2 separate regions of the Homo sapiens genome follow, and region 1 is linked to region 2. Evidence: promoter capture Hi-C in 16 types of primary human blood cells and fetal thymus (Javierre and others, 2016). All regions are on one chromosome and are shown on one strand. Each heading gives the region's core, a stretch centred on a gene start or on the middle of the fragment in contact. The rest is flanking DNA. Distances are from core to core; before and after follow the strand shown. Region 1 overlaps ROCK2 (Rho associated coiled-coil containing protein kinase 2). Region 2 holds the start of ROCK2 (Rho associated coiled-coil containing protein kinase 2).

The links. Contacts are between HindIII fragments. The CHiCAGO score rates a contact against its expected background, and 5 or more counts as called.
Region 1: a contact is called between a fragment that was not itself captured here and the fragment with the promoter of ROCK2 in region 2, in 1 of 17 cell types (megakaryocytes). The highest score is 6.3, in megakaryocytes.

What each region holds. Positions count from the first base shown.
Region 1 is chr2:11,204,888-11,207,587 of GRCh38, reverse strand. The region is part of intron 20 of ROCK2 (Rho associated coiled-coil containing protein kinase 2); the gene reads left to right. Among named protein-coding and RNA genes, the nearest start is that of SLC66A3, 51 kb to the right of the region's middle. The HindIII fragment of the contact is 2,388 bases long and covers 170-2,557 here.
Region 2 is chr2:11,343,312-11,346,024 of GRCh38, reverse strand. ROCK2 (Rho associated coiled-coil containing protein kinase 2) reads left to right here and starts at 1,389. Exons shown (of 33, transcript NM_004850.5): 1 at 1,389-2,029. The coding sequence starts at 1,889. It overlaps LOC124907733 (a long non-coding RNA gene), which reads right to left and starts at 513. Exons shown (of 2, transcript XR_007086216.1): 1 at 336-513. RefSeq lists silencers at 905-1,064, 1,135-1,204, 1,345-2,074. The HindIII fragment of the contact is 12,622 bases long and covers 1-2,713 here.

The sequences.
Region 1 (2,700 bases), core at 114-2,613, 140 kb after region 2:
GAGTGTCACTGTTGTCCTTCGAGATTATATTCGTTTCCCCAACAGTTTTTACTGCTGCTACCTAATTACAATGTGATGATAGAGGAAGTGTTGGTGATGAGGCAGAAGAAAATATCTGGGATTTTCATACCATGCTTTTAGATTCCTCCTCAGGGCTCTTTCTCAAGCTTATTGTCCGTGTGCCTGTTTGTTTCCTTAGTTTCTTAGACTTGGAAATGTTTGACTGTTAAATAAACAGCATGTAAATTTTTAATCATGTCATAGGATGTACTCTAGTGTCTACTTGATTTACTTATAAAATGGAGAACATATTGTTAAAATACTTTAAAAATATTATAGGCACGATTGTGCACGTCTGTAGTTCCAGCTACTTGGGGAGCTGAGGCAGGAGAATCACTTGAGGTGAAGTGAGATTGCTTTGCACTGTGATCATGCCTGCGAATAGCCACTACATGCCATCCTGGACAGCATAACAAGAACTCAACTCTAAAAAAGATAAAATATATAGTAAATATACTATTAAAATTTGTCCCATTTATTCTATTAGTAGGAGAATTACTTCTTCCTAATCATGACCAAAGGTCATATTGGATCCCGGTTGTTTGATGAAAGACAGTGTGATAGAGTGGAAAGAAAAAAGTCTTTGGATCCAGACAGACTGAGTTGTGAATATTGGTTCTGTTACTTACCAACTAACCAACATCGGGCAAATGATTTAATTTCTCTAAGCCTTTTATCACACTTGTGAAAGGGAGCAGTAATAGCTTCCTTGTTAGGGATCTTGTAAAGGATAGCAATGGTTTATTTAAAGCATCCATCATATGATAAGTGTTAGGGACTATTACTGCTAGATCTGTTACTGTTACAACTACTACAGCTACTACTAATGTATCCTCATTATAATTGTCTGCTTTATGCATACCTGTGACAGGTCAGTAAGACTGATGCTATCTAAGAAAAGATGCTTAAAATATTCAAGTAGACTTTGTTCTTTTTGCTGAGCTGATCTATTTATTGCCAGGGTAAGCCTAGACCTTCAACTTCATGAGATTTAAACTTTTAAAATTGGAACTAGAAATTGGAACAGTAATCAGACATCTTTGTCTTTGTGTTTTTTGTGGGTTTTTTTTCTGTATATTAGCTTTATTTTTCTCTCTTATTTCAGGCCAGCTTTTTATTCTAACGATAGTGTTTATGCAGATGTAAGAGCTAGTTAATCATCTAGGTTGTGTTTCCTTCCCACTTCTAATAATGCTTTGTTTATACCTAGTGTATATGCCTCTTATTTTCTTTGTAAGTGAATGGCGTTCTGTTATTTCTTAGTCCCTCTTTTCCTTACCTCTCCCCACCAAAGACACCCATGTTTTCTATCTTAGCCACCTAATAGGGTTATAGAGGAAGTGTTCATTGTAGGGTTAAAATTGAAGGGCAAAAATCATTTATTTATATTTTGTTCTCCCCAGTCCTTTTTTTTTTTGGAGATGGAGTTTCACTCTTGTTGCACAAGTTGGAGTGCAATAGTGTGGTCTCAGCTCACTGCAACCTTCCCTTCCTGGGTTCAAGAAATTCTCCTGCCTCAGCCTCCCAAGTAGCTGGGAATACAGGTGCCCACCACTATGCCCGGCTTATTTTTGTATTTTTAGTAGAGATAGGGTTTCACCATGTTGGCCAGGGTGGTCTTGAACTGCTGACCTCAGGTGATCTGCCTGGCTTTGCCTCCCAAAGTACTGGAATTACAGGTGTGAGCCACTGTGCCCGGCCCCCAATCCTTGATTAAGGTTTTACATATACTACATCCTCAATAAATGTTGTATGAATGATTACATCCCTCTTAGGTGTAAGGCATTGTAGTAGTTACTATGAAAGATAGAAAGATTAACCAAATACATTTCCTACCCATGAGAAGTTTACTAGCATTTTATCATTAGTTATTCAGTGGGGAAGATAAGGCAGGTACATAAGTGAATAGAAGGTAAAAAAAAAAAAAAAATACATGCAATGGGAATTTACATATGAAGTGCTATGTTGGCTTCTTTTTAAAATGGCCAACATGTATATCTCTTCTTTCTTGTAAGATTCCAGAAAAACTCTAGTAAAGGAATTAAAAAATATATAAACCCACAATAAATAAGAATGAGAATGGGTTGGAGGGCAAGAAGGTTCTCTAGTGAATGAGATGGCAGTTAGATGGAAGCCTTGTGACTGATGAAGTAGAACAAAAGAAGAAAGGAGTATATATAAGGCCAGGGGTATACATGAAGTGGGATATAGATGGAAAAGAAGTATTCAGAGCAAATAAGGCCTGGAGTAAGTTGTGACACTAAATGAACTAATCTGCTGATCATACTCTACCATTAACCTTGCAGATATGTCTGCAGCCAGGCACCTCCCACCACTAAGGTTTTTATCAGAGCATTCTCCTCTACAGAGTAATTGGGTACAACCTCTGGGGTAATTAGAACAGCTAATATGGGGTGAAAAGCCTTTCTCACTCTGGCATTTAGGGGTCCCTTTGCTTAATGCTGGCTTTTAAAGCCTCTCATCTTAAACTGAAGCTTGCCAGTGAGAAAACTCCTACATACATAGAGATTAAAGTTTTTCCCACCCCCTTTGCAAGTAAATAACCAAGTATCACTAAACATTTGAGGAAAGCCTGCAATCTGAAAGAGGAAGATTATGATAATGAAAGAGGAAAAGTGC
Region 2 (2,713 bases), core at 140-2,639:
ATCAAAATGCAACTTTTACAGGGCTGGGGCTTCACCCTATCTTCGGGTTTATCTCTGACATGCCAGGGAGACAGTTCTTAACATTCTTATTACTTAATGGATATCAGATTGTTGCTTTTCGGAGTGGTTTTTCCATTTTTTGAAATTTAATTTGTTCTTAAGTATCTTTACAGAAAAAAATCCCATTTATTTAAGAAGTACTGTATTCTCTGGTTCTTATAGCTGCTCATTTTACATAGTTTTAGTGTGTACAAACGATTTTTTTTGTTTCATTTATTTCTAATATACCTTCTCATGTACTTGCCAAAATTTCATGTTTGACACAGTCTGCATACCTGCCAGGATTCTTGCTGTTAATGTGAAGGCGCCTGTTTGGGTTACTCAATTGTTGGACAACTGGGCCCATTCCCAGGTTTTGGTCATCACGAACATTGTGAATAGCCCTGCTGTTAACATCTTTCTGCAAGTTCTCCCCCTTCTTCGCCCTTTGGATCATTTCCTTGGAAATGTACTTCCTTAAATGGGTTTACTGGGTCAAAGGGGCTCTATGAACGGTTTTATAGCTCTTGGCACATAATTTTCGGATTGCGCCCTGGGCGGATCTAAGCGATGGCACCGGCCGCCGAGAGGGCAGGAATGCGGCGGAACGGTCCCGATAACCACCCCTCTTCCGCCCCCCAAAAGGAGAAGACCCCGCGAAGGCCTGCGGCTGGAAAGCCTTTTTCCGGTGCTCTCCCGTTCTCTTGAAGTGGTTAGTGTCTAAGCCGGGCAGAAACGCTTTCAGGATCCCAGGCCCTCCTGCCCCAGGACTAGGATTCCACCCGCCTCCGCTAATTCGGAATCCCAGACACCCAGGGCCCCCTCTCAGGCTCGCCTCGAAACCCCCGGCCCTGCGGCCCCTCGCGGGCGCCGAGCTCGGTCGCTATTATTTGGGCGCGGGTGAGGCGAGGCCCGCATAGCTGCGCGCTGAGTCAGCGGGGGCCGCGGCGGGGGGCGCGGCCGGGCTCCCCCCCAGCGCACGGTGCGCTGGGCCCGGCGTCTGGGGTTCCGCCTCGGGGCCGCGGGGTAGTCCGCGGGGTCCGGCGGGAGGGGCAGGGGGCGCGCGGAAGGACCCGGCCTGGGTGCGTCTCCCCTCCCCCAGCAGGAGCTCGGCCGTGACCGCGCGCCCGGCTATTCGCCTCAGAGAACCTCGCCAGGGGGAGGAGGCGAGGGCGGGCGAGGAAGGGGCGCAGAGGAGAAAGCGGAGCGGGACAGACGCAGGAAGGGAAAGAAAGGGAGGAAGCGCGGTGCGCGGGGCGGGGCGGGGCGGAGCGCGCGCAGGGCCGGCGGGGACGCGCGCCGGCGGCTGCGGGCGGAGGGGCTTGTGGGTAGCGGCGGCGCGCGGCCGGAGACGGGCGGCCGCGCGGGAGTGTGTGCGCCGGGAGCTGGCTGAGGGACTGCAAGGCGGCCGGCGGCGACCATGGCAGCGGGCCGGCGGCGGCCGTAGTGGCCCAGGCCTGGGCTTCAGCCTCCCGGGGCCCCAGAGGGCGGGGCGGTCCGGGCCGCGGCGGTGGCGGCGCCACTTCCCTGCTCCCGCCCGAGGACTCCTGCGGGCACTCGCTGAGGACCAGCGGACCGGCGGCGCGAATCTGACTGAGGGGCGGGGACGCCGTCTGTTCCCCGCCGCTCCCGGCAGGGCCGGGCCGGGCTGGGCCGGGCTGGGCCGGGCGGGCCCCTGGGAGCAGCCCCCAGGCGGGGGACCGCCTTGGAGACCCGAAGCCGGAGCTAGAGGCAGGCGGTGGGCCCGGGTGGAGTCCCGGCCGGAGCTGGTGGTTCGGGGGCGGTGCTAGGCCCCGAGGCTGCGGGACCTGAGCGCGAGGAGCCTGAGTGCGGGTCCAGCGGTGGCGGCATGAGCCGGCCCCCGCCGACGGGGAAAATGCCCGGCGCCCCCGAGACCGCGCCGGGGGACGGGGCAGGCGCGAGCCGCCAGAGGAAGCTGGAGGCGCTGATCCGAGACCCTCGCTCCCCCATCAACGTGGAGAGCTTGCTGGTAGGTGGCCGGGGCCTGGGAGCTTGCTCGTTGCAGCTCACACCTCAGATCCCCTCTCCGCCCAGCCCTCCGTGCCCGTCCGCCCGTGGGGAGGGGGAGGTCTTGCCCCACCCCGCCCTGCTTCCGGCAGCCGGGGCCGGAGACCAAACGATTCTGTCACCGAGTTCCAAGAGTAGTGACCCGCCTTTGATTCCTCCCTCTACCTCCTGCTGGAGCCAGTGTCATCCCCGGCTGCTCCTTTCTTGCAGCACTGGGAGGAAAACACCCCTCTTCTCCTTCCGCCTGCCCACTCTGGGGAGGTGGGTGGAGGACTGGCCATGCTTCATACACCAGGTTAGCTGATTTGAAAGTGTCATGCTACGTGGGGACTTGGTGCGAGCGAGGGAGAAAGAAACCTGATGCTGTCCCTGTTGCGAGTACTCACTGGGGTACATGACAAAGAGCCGCCCTCACTCTCTCCTTTTAGTCTGAAATCTTGGAACACACAGCTAAAGTTTTGCTGTTTTCACTTGCGTTTGAGCATTCCATACTTGCTATTTAGTGCATTTTAATTGCTGTAAATTTAATTCCCTGAGATTATTGCGCCAGAGCCAAAAAATCAGTCTGAATTGTGGAGTGGAATAAATCTGTCCTCTTCATTGCGTCTCTTTCCTATAACGACCTTTGAAATCCAGATTAATAGCA